2 separate regions of the Homo sapiens genome follow, and region 2 is linked to region 1. Evidence: promoter capture Hi-C in 16 types of primary human blood cells and fetal thymus (Javierre and others, 2016). All regions are on one chromosome and are shown on one strand. Each heading gives the region's core, a stretch centred on a gene start or on the middle of the fragment in contact. The rest is flanking DNA. Distances are from core to core; before and after follow the strand shown. Region 1 holds the start of TRAF5 (TNF receptor associated factor 5). Region 2 has its middle 25 kb from the start of RD3.

What was found. The method cuts DNA at HindIII sites, captures the fragments that hold promoters and counts their contacts. A CHiCAGO score of 5 or more calls a contact.
Region 2: a contact is called between a fragment that was not itself captured here and the fragment with the promoter of TRAF5 in region 1, in 1 of 17 cell types (total B cells). The highest score is 5.2, in total B cells.

Annotation. Positions count from the first base shown.
Region 1 is chr1:211,323,674-211,331,146 of GRCh38, forward strand. It overlaps TRAF5 (TNF receptor associated factor 5), which reads left to right and starts at 3,160. Exons shown (of 11, transcript NM_001033910.3): 1 at 3,160-3,216. RefSeq lists enhancers at 1,864-2,365, 2,635-3,024, 6,588-6,647 and a silencer at 3,085-3,454. The HindIII fragment of the contact is 10,339 bases long and covers 1-6,258 here.
Region 2 is chr1:211,513,383-211,520,855 of GRCh38, forward strand. No RefSeq gene overlaps it. Among named protein-coding and RNA genes, the nearest start is that of RD3, 25 kb to the left of the region's middle. RefSeq lists silencers at 844-933, 1,946-2,305 and an enhancer at 5,516-5,565. The HindIII fragment of the contact is 635 bases long and covers 4,609-5,243 here.

The sequences.
Region 1 (7,473 bases), core at 1,910-4,409:
ATTGGCAGCCAGGGCTGCAGTCTCTCACCCTAATTTATACAGCAAATTAAACAGCTGAAATCCATGTCTTCGGGCGTCTGGGGCAATCTTACGGTGTCTAGAAGCAACAGATAAAAGGGTTAGTGCTTTTCTTCTGCATAAAACTGTAGTGTATAGTTCAGCCCTGGTCTTATTTTGTAGCTGAATTTAGTTTGAAGGTTGGATTCTCTTCAATGTTAGATATAATGTTGAACTTAATGCTGAATATTTTCAAAACACTAAAAGTACTAAAATTTGTCTTTAAGTTGTTTTGTTTGAATTCACATCAGTCATTTATTTGAGGGGTAGGGTATAGTGGCTAGGAGTACCAGAACCAGACTTCCCAGAATTCAAATTCTGCCTCTCTCAAACTAAGAATTTTGTGATTCTGGGCAAATTGCTCAATAGATAAGATTTTCCATCTATAAAATGGAGTTGATTATTAAATGAGTTAATATAAAAAACACTGAGCACAGTACCTGGTATATAAAACGTAATAGGCCGGGCACAGAGGCTCATGCCTATAATCCCAGCACTTTGGTAGGCCGAGGTGGGTGGATCACTTGGGATCAGGAATCTGAGACCAGCCTGGCCAACATGGCGAAATTCCATCTCTACTAAAAATACAAAAATTAGCTAGGTGTGGTGGTGCACGCCTATAGTCCCAGCTACTCGGGAGGCTGAGGTGGGAGAATTGTTTAAACCCAGGACGTGGAGGTTGCAGTGAGCCAAGATCACGCCACTGCACTCTATCCTGGGTGACAGAGCGAGATTCCATCTAAAAAAAAAAAAAAGAAACCTTAATAAACGTTAGTTATCACTTGAAGGTATTTAATGTTTTTTTATATGTGCATTTATGTACATACAGGATTCAAATTCCGCTTTATGATCAACAGGGAATTGGGACTATGTTACTGACTTCTGACTAATACCCGTCTAAAATTCCTTTACCCTTTCCACTTAGACGCAGCCCTCGAGTTATGCGGCCCCCATTTCCCACCACAATAAAGATCCACCTCTCTATCCCAGGTTTTATTCCATCATATTTAAGGCTTGGATGTAATTTTTGGAACAATTGACTGCTTTATTTAGTTGGTGGGGAGAGGAGTAGGAGAGAGAAGCAAATTACAGTCAATGACAGGACCAGGGATTCTGAGCATACCTGCATGTATGCATACTAGACACTGATGTTCCAGCCAGTGAAAGGAGATATAACTTCTAAAAAACAGTATCAACTTTATTATGCTTGGAAGTAATGAGAAGAGAGGCAAGAAGCAGGCAATGGTAAGAGAAAGCGGGTGGGACGTAGTGGCTTGCACATTTAATCCCAGCACTTTGGGAGGTCGAGGTGGGAGGATCGCTTAAACCCAGGAGTTTGAGACCAGCCTGGGCAACATAGTAAGTCTCCATCTCTTCAAAAAAAAAAAAAAAAAAAAAGGAGCTGGGGGAGGTGGGCGTAGTGGTGTGTGCCTGTAGTCCCAGCTACTCTGGGGGCTGAAGCGGCAGAATTACTTGAGCCCAGGAGATCCAGCCTGCAGTGAGCTGTGATCATGCCCCTGCACTCCAGCCTGGGTGACAGAGTGAGAACCTCTCTCAAAAAATACACACCCACAAAAAGAGAGGGAAAGTATAGTGTATGGCAGAACAGGAAGGAGAACTTGGGTTCACTAAGCACCTACTCTGTGTTAGGCGTACAGGAGTGCCATCTCATTTAATTCTCATGAGAAGATTATGAGACAGATCTACAGTCCCAAAGCAACACCCACCAGTGCCTCTCCCCCACGGAGCGGTTCATCTAACTCACCAACCAAAAAAGGTTTGGATCTGGATTTCTGGCTCTTTGGAGAAATAAGAGATCAGGTAACAATAGGCTGGCACTGGGTGGTGGCTGCTCCACTAGATCCTCCACCTGCTCTTTAGTGCACCAGCGCCTCCCTCCTTTCTCCATGACCACAACCTCTGCCTCCCTCCTGTATGTTTCCTGCCGAGCTCCTGTGCACATCTGAGTTTTTGACTCCCAAGGTGTGTATTATTCTCCCCTTTTATTGACGAGGACGGTAACTGAAACTCAGAGCAGTTAAGTACTTTTCCCACGGTGGCCTAACTGAAAGTAAAGGATCTAGATAGAATTGGAATTTTGGTCCATTTCATTTATATAGAATGTATTGCCCTTGGAGAGAATATATTGTAAGAAAGAGCCCGTATCTAAGAGTGCGCAGGCCAAGCGCGGTGGCTCACGCCTGTTGGGAGGGCAAGGCAGGCGGATCACAAGGTCAAGAGATGAGACCAGCCTGACCAACATGGTGAAACCCCGTCTCTACTAAAAGTACAAAAATTAGCCCGGCGTGGTGGCACATGCTTGTAATCCCAGCTACTCGGGAGGCTGAGGCAGGAGAATTGCTTGAACCTGGGAGGCCAGGGTTGCAGTGAGCCGAGATCGCGTCACCGCACTCCAGCCTGGCGTGAGAGCGAGACTCCGTCTCAAAAAATAAAATAAAATAAAAAATACGTATAGAGAGAGAGAGAGGGAGAGAGACAGGCAGACAGCAGACCTGGATTCAAGTTCCAGCTGCAGAGCTTGCTGAGCGTGTCTAACCTTGGGTACGTCACTCCACGTTGCTGCTCTGGCCCTCAGACAGCTCATCTGTAAAATGGGGATGACCAGGCCTACTTCACCAGCTTGTTTTGAGGACCACAGGAGATGTTTGGGAAGCCAACCGGGGAGCTCTACAACTCTCAGAGATTGCTGGTGTTAGGCCAACAGCAAGAGGAGGGCTGGCAAATTTGTGCTACCCTGAAGGAAAGTCCAGGAAGGACTGATTTGAGCCAGATCTCAAGCAAGGCCTTGAGCAAATGGGTCAACACAGGAGAGGACGGGCTGAGCCTTGTTGTGCCTGACGGAAGAGCAAGACGGCCACAATTCAGACGCACGTGAGGGAAATCAGATGACTGGACTTGTAGATACTAACGGTTCTGAAGCGGGTAGGTTAGCTTTCCAACCGCCTGGATGACGGTCTCAGCCTCCTCCCGACCCCTTCCTGCGCGTCCGCTCTTCCCCTGCGCCCGCCCGCGCCCCTCCGCCCGCGCCCCGGCCCCGCCCCAGGCCTCGCCTCCGCTTCGCCGCCGCCGCCGGCCGCAGCCAGGAGCAGCAGCCGCGCCTGCAGACCGGCCTCGCGGAGCCCGCGCGCCGAGCCCCACGTGAGTCCGGCGGGTCGCCGCCCTGGGCACCCTCGCGACGGAAGGGCCGGGGTGGGGACACCGACGAGCGCTTTTCATCTCGTCCCAGTTACTTTGAAACCGAAAGCGCCTGCTGGCGTCCGGCCGGTCCCCGACCGGCGGGGAGGGCGCGAGGCGGCGGCTGGGCCGGGGGAGGCGGAGGGGCCCGGGCTTGCGGGAGACCGGCGGGGCAGGTGACCGCCGACGGCCCGGGGACAGCGGGAGCGGTGCGGAGCGGGTTTCTTAGCCGGGGAGAGGTGTGGCGAGGGCGGAGACTGGGGGTCCAAAGCTGGGGAGCTGGTCCAGAGGGCGGCTGTGGACCGGAGGGGCCAGGTTCCGTCGGGGTGCACTGGCGGGGAGGACTTTCAGGCACGTCCCGCACATCCGCACTGCAAACCAGGCCCTGGCCCCCTTCCGCACCCGAAGGCACCCTCTCCACCTTTGCAGGGCTTTCCAATCAAAGCAACTCCAGAATGAAACTTCAGGATTGCAAGGAATGGAAGCCTCTACCAGCTGTTCGTTTGCGCGTCTTCCTTTAGAAAGCAGCTACCCCCCTCCCCCAGAAGGCGAGCTCTAAGGAACCTTGACGCAAACCAAAGCTCCGAGAGGTGGAAGGAGTTGCCCAGAGGCACCCAGAGAATTCGCAGATTCTGAGTTCTCCGTACCAGATGGTCTCCACTTTGTTCCTGTTCTGCAGGGTCTTGGTGGTTCTGAGAATTTTCGGGGCCACGCTCTTGCTGCGGGTCCCACTGGGCCACTCTGGCTGGCCGACTTTCTCTGCTCATTCGGCCTCCTTCTGCTAAGTTTCCATATTTGGGTATTTCAGATTTACTTTCATGAGAACTCAGTTATCTCGCTGTGGCAGGCAGAGCTGCCTCAGGCGAGCATTGAGGTTGGTGAAACCAGGCGAGGCTCCCTGCCAGGGCTGCCCCTGCAGCCCCCACCCTCCATAGCCTTGGGCTCTGACCCACCTCCTGTGAGGATAGGCATCTGGTAACCAGTTTAATTCTGTAAATATTTATTGGGCAGGTGCTGTGTGAGAACTGGGCTGGGGCCAGTGGAATATGGTTATTTCCTCCAGAGATACTTGCATTTTAAAAGGGCTCTGGAAGACCTGAGATGCAAAGAAATTAGTTGAACCATTTCTGGAAATAGAACAGTTTTGGGTGTGTGCGAGATAATTTTAGGCAGCAAAAGGCTGGGCTAGGAACTCTCAAATCCCAGTGCAGCTGCTCTGCCTTATGTACTCACAAAGCTGAAAACAGGGGTGTTAATGTAATTGATGGTTTGGGTGGAAACACTTCCATCCCTAACTCTAATTTGAACTAGAAAGACAGAAATTGCTGCAGGAACGATGGATGTAAGATGGAAGTGGAAAACGCCTAGCTTCTGTAAAGGTTTTTGATTTTGTTACAGTTACTGTTTTTGTTGTAACTCTATGGAATGGATCACCTCTCAGATCCCTGGCTCCTGGACAGAGGCAGGAGAAAGTGTCTGAGCCAGCATCTGGAACATGGGAAGTGATGGAGAAGGCGACTTCTCCCACGGCCTCTGGGCTGAGAGGCCTGTTGTGACGGGCAGGGTAGGATGGTGGTATTTCCCTCTGTCAGCAGCAAGCCCGCTGGACTTGGGTAGTAGGGCGATGGAAAGAGTGTGGAAAAGAGCTGCCGTCCACTGAACGTCCTGACGATAGGGACTGGGATGTTTCAGTGGGGATGATTTGCACAGTCGGGGAGCTAGATGCCTCAGAGTCAGTCTTGTTAGGCTTGCAGTGGGAAAGGCACCTCAGTACTTAGACAAACCTCCTCTGATTAGCTCAGCTTTACTGGGGAGGACCTTGAAGGAAAAATAATTATTTGTTTGTAAAGCTCGTTCCTTTGCAAAGCATTTTCTCTTTGTTCTTGTCGTTTTGTTCTCATTTCGTCCTCCATGACGCCCTCATGAGTTAGAGCAGGCTTATTCTCTACATCTCTCAGATTGTGAGGGTGAAGCACTGAGGCGGTAAATAGCTCCCTGAGCTCCACTGCTGGACCAGGATCAGAGCATTGAGGTGTCTTGTTCCCCTGCTCCAGGCCCCTCACCCTGGCTTCTCAGAGAGCCATATCTGCCCACCTCTTCCTCCGTCTGAGGGGTCAGCAAGGGGACCCAGATTCTGATAATGCCTCTGTGGTCTGTCCCCAGCAACATGGAGCAAGTTCTGCTGGAGACTCTGGCCTAACCACCACAAGAACAGACATCCACTCTGTTAGCTCTGCCTAGCCAGGCAAACTCCGGGCAAGACCCTTGTCTGTTTTCATGTGTGTCTTGGAACCTGGCATAGAGTAGGCCTAAACAGATGTTTGCTGAATCGAATTGAATTCATTCAGGGTACGTCTCCCTTGGGGTCTGAGCTGCCAGGAACAAGTGCTGGGTAGGCTTGGCAGAGAGAGGTTGAGCTCCCAGCAGGACTTGCTTAAATCCAGAAATTAGAATAACACTGTACAGCTTACGAGAAGCCCATCTCATCTGATTAACTTCTCACTACCTCCTCAGGAGAAGGGAGAGGCACATGCTATTCCTTCCACTTTACCTGGTTGCAAGCTGAGGCTCAGAAGTGATTTGAAAGACCTCACAGCATGTAGGGATGGGGCAGGACCTAATCCCAAGTCTTCTTTCTCCAATTCCTGTGTTTTTCCCATAGTATCTTAATTAAAGGAAGCCAGGATTCTGGGCAGGAGGAGGATGAGAGAACCAGCGAGACAGTCATCAAAAGCTGCCTGACACCTTTGTCACTGATCAGGGGTCAGTGTCTGACTCAGTCTCTGAAGAGCTTTTTTCTGCCCAGGTTGTGGCTTTTTCTGGGATTCTGGATAGGAGTTCTAGCTCCAGCAGAGGTGTAGCAAGTGAGTATCTGTGTGTGTTGGGGCAGAGGAGAACACGCTGCAGGGCAGAGGGAGTCCTCAGAGCTGGCAGGCCTCTGCTGCTGCTGCCGCTGCCACCACCCAGGAGTGGGCCAGCATGAATTTGTTGCCTTGCCCAGAGGAAAGCTTTATTTGAAGGATCACTCAGCAGCCTTGACCCATATGGCCTCCAGCAAGTCCTATCTTGTGAGAAAGTGGCTTGGAGGACCAGGCAGGAGATAAAAGTGAAAGTACTCATTAGTCCTGACAGAGGAACTCAGTCTGTTTACAGTGACAGTGGTGAGCACATTTTGCATATTTGTACCTGGAGGCAGGTGGTGGTGCATGCTTGGATCGTGCTGTAGCAAAAGCAGTATACATGCAAATGGTCTGTACACTGTGCAGTATCCGTGTGATGTGCAGGTCTTAGAGACCCAGTATTAAGTGACAGAGCCCAGTGAGTGCCCTCCCAGGATATCTCACTTACTTTCAGCAGAGCCCCATGTCTCATTTCTTGACACCACAGGCTCCATCAACTTCCCTCCTTACCAATTCAGAACATTCCTGAATTTTTTTCCATGGCTTTTTTTTTTTTTCTCTCAAGGAGAAAGTGCTCTCCTCCAGAACAAGGCGAGAGTACCTTTTCCACGTACACTCCCAAGTCAGCTCTCTCCTCCTCCCTCTGAGGCAGGTTCCCTCCCTGCCTCCCTCCCACAGACTTCTTCCCTCCCCCACAAGCTGAGTTTTCTGTTAGTAAGAAGACTCCATGTTTCCCCAGTCCCTCTTCTCTTTCTTTCACTGACAAGCTTCTGTAAAGAGTGGACAGCTCTTGCACTCGCTCCTCACTCGGCACCGTGCACCTGCTGCGCTGCTCTGATTGTCCTGTGTAGGTTTCCAGGACCTGGTACTCCTCAGTCACCAGCCCATACCAGCCCACGCTGCAGCTATTACTTATCTCCTTGGAGGTTGCTACACCGTCCCCACCAGCATTCCCTTCCTTGACCTCCAGCTTCTTATCCTCCTCTGTCCTGCAAGTGCAGGTATGGGGCCAAGGCTGGGTCCTCAGGTTGGATTTCAATTCTCTGTGCTTCTCTCCTTGAGCCCTTGGCCATTCCCAAGACTTAAACCAACACTTTTAAGGAAAGGCTGATCAAATTTCCATCCCTCACCCAGTTATCTTCTTGGCCACTATGATTTGCAATATTCAGAATCTTCACCATGATGTTTCAGAAGCACCTTAGACATTTGTCCGAGGCCGCCTCTTTCTCTCTGTTCTCTCTGTTGCAGAAATCGCTGCTGTTCCTCAGTCACCTTTATCCTGTCCCCCTCAGCCAGTCCTGATCTGTCTATTCCCAGTTCA
Region 2 (7,473 bases), core at 3,676-6,175, 190 kb after region 1:
CTATTGCTTGCTGGCCACATGACTTTAGGCAAATTATCTAATCTCTTTGTGTTTTATCAGTTGCCTTATCAGCATCCTTTGTAGTGTCAACCTCATAGGGCTGTGTAAGGATTAAATAAAATAACACACTTAAAGCCTTCCACTCAAGGTCTAGAACATGGCAAATACTAGATGAAAGTTAAGCTGTTTCTGTGCTGCAAGCTGGTGCATTGAACATGCCTCTCCCTGGGTGGCTTAAAGGTGATTCTAGGTGGGGAGAGAAATAGGAGCATTGGAGAGAAGACAAGAGAGAGGATGGAACCTTCAGAACCAGCTGCCTTCAACTCGCTTTACAGCTTGTCACTCCAAATAAAAGCAACAGTCACAACATATCCTTACTATGTAGGGTTTTACCCTTTGCAAATGCATTCTCAGACACTCATTTTAGCCTCGTGACAGCCCTGTCTGGTGGGTACTACTATCCCCATTTTGCAATTGAGAAAACTGAAGCTCTGAGATCCCAGGTCCTGCCCCAGTTGGGCACTGGGGTGGGACTCCAGGTGGGTAACAGATTGAGTTGCCCTGACCACCTAGCAGAAGGGGTAGACGTCAGAGGCAGTGAGACCTGCAGGATGACTTTTACCAGTGGTTCTCAAATTTGAGCATGTTTCAGAATCCCCTGGAGGGCCTGTGAAAAACACGAATTGCTGGGCCCCAACCCCAGAGTTTCTGACTCAGAGTCTGGGGTTGGGAGTTGGTCTTGCTGAGAGCCCTCTAACCATTAGCAGCGGCGACATCTTGTGGTGAGGGACAGAATGTACCTTGGGCTCCCTCAGCCCTGATTACCCGCGCGTCCAGGATGATGCCGGACCAGGCTGCACCGCCCAGAGGCCCGACGGCGTCGCTGGGGCAGACCCAGAGACTCTCACACGCCTTGTCCTTGCCCGGAGGGTGCAGGCGCCTGCATGCCTCATTTACCCTAGAGAGAACAGGAAAACCTAAACTTGTTGTGCAGAACCTGCAGCTTCGTGTTAGAATACTATTTCCTCCCCCCACCTCCCTTTTTGTTAGAGACAATATCTCTGTTGTCCAGGCTGGAGTACAGTGGTGCTCTGCTCGCTGTAGCCTCCAACTCCTGGGCTCAAGTGATCCTCTCGCCTTGGCCTCCCAGAGCGCTGGAATTATAAGCATGGCTCATCGCACCCGGCCCAGAATATTTTTTATTCTCATTTTTGTAAATAAGTTTCTTCCCTGGTCTTTCCACCGGAGCCTGTGAATCGCAGCCTCGTGGCACCACCACAGTTGGCTTCTCAAGTCGGGAGGCTGACTCCTTGAACCGGGCGCCTCACTTCACGATTGCTTTCAGCTCAAAGGAGCATTTTACAACAGGAACCATTATCCCTGGTAGCTTGACGTCCAGCCCTGACACGATTTTCTGATTGACTAAAATTAGGGTAATGAGTTATGAGGGCAGAGAATGGAGCTGCGATCCCTGTAGGCGGGGGCAGTACCGCCTCTTATTTCCTCTGCCCAGGTGGTTAAGTTGGTAGATTGGGGTGTAGGTGTCTCTGGAGTTGGGCAGCAATGGGTGGGGTAGTAGAAGGACACCTGGTCTGTGTCCGGGGCTGGGTTCGAATCCCCACTCTGCCTGTGAGCTGAGAGCCCATGGGCACATCACCTGAGCTTTCTGCGTTTATCTGTAAAATGGGCAAGAGGCAATCAGTCATTTATATGAAAGCGGCCTGCAGTGCCTGGCACCGAGGCGGGCACGGATGGGCATTTGGTAAGGCAGGGAGGAGGAGCGCGGCGCCTGGAGGCTCCCGGGGCAGGGGAGAAGGGCATCGAGAACGGGGGCGGCGTGCGGGGTGGGAAGAGGAGAGAGTTCACGGCTTGCTCCTTCCCCTGCCCCCAGCCGCCTCAGCCCAGGCCTGAGTCTCTCCCCGTCTGGGCCTCTGCTTCCTGCAGGCACAGCCAGGGCCAAGACGCGCCCCTGGGCCTCCCTCCCCTTCGACGTCTCCACCCGGTATGGAACATTAATCATTAACCGTCCTGTGGCCAGGCCCAGCGGGGCGCCCGCTTCAGCTCTCCCGGTGCCACCTAGCTGAGTCACCGCGGTCTGGGCAGCTCCCCGCAGCCAGGACCTCCCTCCGGGCCGAGGGTCGCGGGGTTCGAGCCGCGGCGAGGTCTTGGGCTTCCCAGGGGCCGCTCCTCGGTGCGCCGCCGCCCACAATCAGCAGGGGGCGCCCGTCCCGACCGCGGGAAGCCGGCGGGGCCACCGAGCGGCGGGCTGGCCTGGCGGGGCGGTGTCAGGGCGGCAAGGCGGCGCCTCCCCAAAGCCGTAAACCTTCCCGCCCGGCTGACTACGCCGGCCCAGCCACGCACGCGCACCCCGCATGCCCCGTGGCCTGTGAGGTTATTCAAGAAGCCAAGGTCGGGAGTGGGGAAGGTCAGCCTCTAGCCCGGCACTGTCTGGAAAAGATCGAACCAATTAATTGACTGTAAGAAGCATGTAACCAATACAATGGAAGGCATTGCTACCCTTCCTCCACCAGGTTCAGGACCTCATGCCCAAGGAACGGCGCGCAGGAATTGGTAGTAGGTTGTGGAGGGTCAGGGGCTCTCCCAGCATCCTGAGGCTGTCTCCTGTGAAGGCCACTCCAGAGGTTAAAGCTTTCCCGGGTGCCAGGAGAGCTCTCCTAATTCAGCCGTAGGGATCACCAGTAAAGATGCTCAAAAATCCCAGCATCTCCCACTTGCAACCCACAGGGGATTCTATTCTACTCTCTCTAATTCCCCATGGCCACATAGTTGAGGTCACTTAACAATTTTTTTTAAAGACGGAGTTTCGCTCTTGTTGCCCAGGCTGGAGTGCAACGGCGCTATCTCGGCTCACCGCAGCCTCCGCCTCCCGGGTTCCAGCGATTCTCCTGCCTCAGCCTCCCCAGTGGCTGGGATTACAGGCATGCACCACCACGCCTGGCTAATTTCGTATTTTTTGTATAGATGGGGTTTCTCCATGTTGGTCAGGCTGGTCTTGAACTCCCGACCTCAGGTGATCCGCCCTCCTCAGCCTCCCAAAATGCTGGGATTACAGGCATGAGCCACCGTGACCGGCCGGTCACTTAACATTTAACCTAACACCCACCTGCCAGCAGGTCAAAGGTTATTGCCTATGACTGGCCAGGTTTCACTTCGGCTGCCGTGGTGCTCCTGATGTGACTGCACTGGGCAGACGGACCTGAAGTACTGTCCCTGTATTAAGTGGAGTGGCCCCGGGAATGAAGCCATAACAGCAGCCAGAGACAGCAGCCCAGATTGGCTGTCTTGACAGCCCAGAGCCAGTGTGGTCAAATCTGCCCCCATGATGCCTGTGTCCTTGCTATTCCCGCCCCAGTCATCCCCCTCTGAACCCCAAGGAGTAGCTGTGAGGGTGCAGGTGGGTGAAAGAGACAGGCAGTGGACATTAGTGCAAGAACTAGGGTCATGGGTTCTGAGTCCAGCTGGTCACTGCATACCTACGTGATGACACATAATTTCTCTGAGTCTCAGTTTCCCCAGCTGTAAACAGCACTAATAGGAACTGTGTGGACTACCTCAAAGGGTTGGTAAAGGGTTCAAATTAGATAACGAATGTTCATCACTAACCCATTCATTCGTTAAATGTTTATTACAAACTTGCCTGAAAGATGATGATCCGTCTTCTCAGTGGCAGCAGAAAAATCATGAAAGACCCTGCCCATGACGCCACCTGTGGTGCACACAGGCTTAGCACCAGCCTTTCTTAAACTGTGTGAGCAGGAGGGCTGCTGCAGAGGAGGAGGGATGCAAGGTGAAGGGGGAGGAGAGGCAGGAACTGCATGGTGGAGGAAGCAGGAAGAAGGGCGAGGCCTCACCCATATGGCCTCAGCAGGCCCTGTGATCTCCCTGTTGAGCCCAGGTTCTCCCAGAAGCTCCCTGGGAATTACTGAGCTGGGTGTGGCTTCCTAGCCCCACACCTGCCCAGCCAGCTCAGGGCCCCTCCGTGCTGTCTTCTCAGGATCCTGCTTCAACCTGCTGCCACTTCCCCATGCCTAGCTCACTGTCACTTTCTCCCTTACCTGCCCTCTCAGCCTCAAACTGATAATTTGGAAAAAGAGGCGCCTGGAAAAAACCACTTCCAGGGTACAGCAGGAACCAGCCTCACTCTTCTTTCTCTCTTTTAAAAATTATTACGATTTTTACTGAGATGGGTTCCAAGTATCACTCTCCACCACCTCATCACCTTCTGGGACCTGGATGGACTCCAGATCACTATGTTGCCTAGGCTGGTCTCAAACTCCTGAGCTCAAGTAATCCTCCGGCCTCGGCCTCCCAAAGTGTTGGGATTACAGGCGTGAGCCACTGTTGCCTGGTCTGGCCTCGCTTTTAATTTTGGCTTCCTGGAGGCTTTTGCTGAGGTAGAGATGCAGGCCACCCTTGCCTGACAATGCCTTCCAGGCAATTGAGTGGCTGAGCCAGTGGGAGAAGGTGGGCTTCTCTCACTCCCAGGTGTGGTGGTAGTGAACCAGCCCAGGTGGTCAACATGAACTGGGAACATGGAAGACAAAGGTAAAAGAGCTGGTAAGGGAAGCAAAGCAGGTTTGGGAATAAAGCTTAAAATCTGGTACAGAGTGGGTTACCATGCCGTCCCTCTGGGGCTGACACATCAGGCGGAAGCCCCCAAATACAGGGTTAGTCTTGTCATGTTACAGTTCTCCCACTGGGCTGAGAACTTCCCAAAGACACAAGCCATGTTTCTTCCTCATCTTATAACTTGTGTAAAAGGCTGGATCCCTTGGAGTACAATCTTCTCACTGGGCACCTGCTGGCCATAGGCCAGCCCGCAGAGAGCAGGGCAAGGGTACGCATGTGCCCCCGAGTGGCTCTCTTAGCCAGGCTGGGCCAAGGTTCACCCATTTCCAAGCTCAGCCTCTGGGCATACCATGTTTGGAGCCCAAGGGCAGTTTTCCATGCAACGAGGCACGTATCACTCTCTACCACCTTGTCACCTTCTGGGACCTGCGTGGACTCCAAATCCCTCTCTCTAGATGTAAAATTGAACCTGGTGGAGGCTCTGCAGCTGATGTGAAACCACCACTTCCTCTCTCCCCAGATGGTTCCAGCCAGAGGCCAGCCAGTCAGCCCTGTTAGGGTGAGCACCTACTGTGTGCAGAGCCAAGTGCTCAGTGTATGATACTCACCTTTTGTTTTGCCTGCCTATTATCCCTTCCCCTTATTCTGGCAAAAGCTTTCCAATTCTTAACCTTCCACTTGTAGTCAGTAAGATTCCCACAGGGCCCATTGCCAGAAGGAAGCCCCTGGGCCAGGCCTGGCCACAAGATATTTTACCCCAGCCTCTGACACTGGTCACAGAGATCATCAGCACCAGGGCTGTAGCTGGAACTAGTGGGAGGAGAAACTCTCTCTACTGGTGGATTACATGAGCCTGGGACTGCTGATGGGCATCTTGCATCACCAGGGGAGAGCCACGCCAAGGAACAGAGAAAGACCAATTCCTGAGGACATCGCTTAGGCTCCTGGAGCCACCGTGGCTGGAATGGCCAAGCTATGACTGCCTACATTTCCTAAGTTACTTTGAATTGGGTTTTCTGTCACTTGAAACTAATAATGGTGACCAAAATGAGGAGAGGAGGGTGCTCAGAGAAATAAAGAGAGGAAGTGAAATGATTTCTACTTTCAGAAAGGTCCCAGGCTGAGGGGAAATATGGTTTTCATCCTCGGGTGTCTGAACACATGATCTTCCATTTTTTTAACTGTGTGTGTGTGTGAGAGAGAGAGAGATTGTGATATATATATATATATATACACATACATATGTGTATATATACATATACACATTGAGAAAAATTCTTATACTTTTTATTTCTTTGTCAAAAAATACATATCCAGAATGGAAAACTTATTTAAAAAAGAAAAGAAAGAAAGAAAAAAGGAAGGAAGGTAACCTGTATGCCACCCTCCACTGTTACTCTTTTTCAGTGGGTTCATGTGTGCATACACCTTTAACAAACTACAGAGGGTCATCTGGTAGAGATTACTTCAATTTGTTTTTCTCCCCACTTACCAACACATGGGGATCTTCTTTGCAAAAACATAGAGGAAACTTTTAGGAGGCAAGTCTCATGGCCCTACCGTGTTCACATGCATCTCGCCACCCAGCCTGTCATCTTGTTTCCTAAAAGAGGCACAGGAGGCCATCTGTGGATGAAAAGTGCCAATTATTCTCCATAGTGTCGCTGTTAGAGAAAGTCTTAAAAAACAGAGCATTCATTCACTCACTTGTTCAATAAGTAAATATTTAAGTGCCTCTCAACATGCAGGGCACTGAACTATGCGCTTAGGGTATGATGAACAAAACCAGACATTGTCTCTGCTCCTTGGAGCTTACAGCATAGTGAGGCAAAGTCATTCATCAAACACTTGCCAAACACGTGTAAACCACTGGCTGGCACAGATGCTGAAAGGGCATAGCATAGGCAGGTTTGGTCCACTCAGGAGGGCTTTCCTGAGGAAGTGAGGTGTGGGCTGGAATCTAAAGGATGAAAGGTGCTAACCAGGCCAAGAGAGCGATGTGAGCATTTCAGGGAAAGGCACTGTAGTTGGAGAGAGTATGGCTGGAGTGGAGAGAGGGGGAGCCAGTGTCCCCCACCGTGAGAGTGGGTGGCAGAGAGAGAAAGGAGCCAGGTGATGCAGGGCCTTTGAAGTCACATTGCTAAGTTTTGTCATGGTCCTAAGAACAAGGGGAATTGGCTGGGTGTGGTGGCTCACACCTGTAATCCCAGCACTTTGGGAGGCTGAGGTGGGTGGATCACTTGAGGTCAGGAGTTAGAGACCAGCCTGGCCAACATGGTGAAACCCCATCTCTACTAAAAATACAAAAAATGGGCCGGTTGTGGTGGCATGCGCCTGTAATCTCAGCTACTCGGGAGGCTGAGGCAGGAGAATCGCTTGAACCTGGGAGGCGGAGGTTGTAGTAAGCTGAGATTGTGTCACTGTACCACTGCATTCCAGCCTGGGTGACAGAGCGAGACTCTGTCTCAAAAAAATAAATAAATAAATAAAAGCGGTTGGGGGAAAAAAGGGGAGCCACTGAAGTTTCCCCAAGCAGATGCGTGTATGACATGACTAGTTTTGTGTTCTGTAAAGATTCTGAGGCTGCGTCGTGAGAAATGGGCTGGACAGATCCTAAACAGACTGGAGTGTAGTCGGCAGACAGCTATTGCAGTAGTCAAGGGATCAGAGGGCAGGGTAGCTTGCCATAGGGTGATGGTACAGGAAATGGAGAAAAGAGGAGGGCCTGGAGATGCATTTAGAAGATAAATCAGAACTTGGTAATCGATTGGCTATGCAGAGTGAGAGAGAGTGTGTCGGGAGACTCCTGCTTTATTCCTGTCTTGCTCAACTGGGTAGGTGGCACCACCAGTCATGGAACTAGAAAACACTGTAAGAGAACCA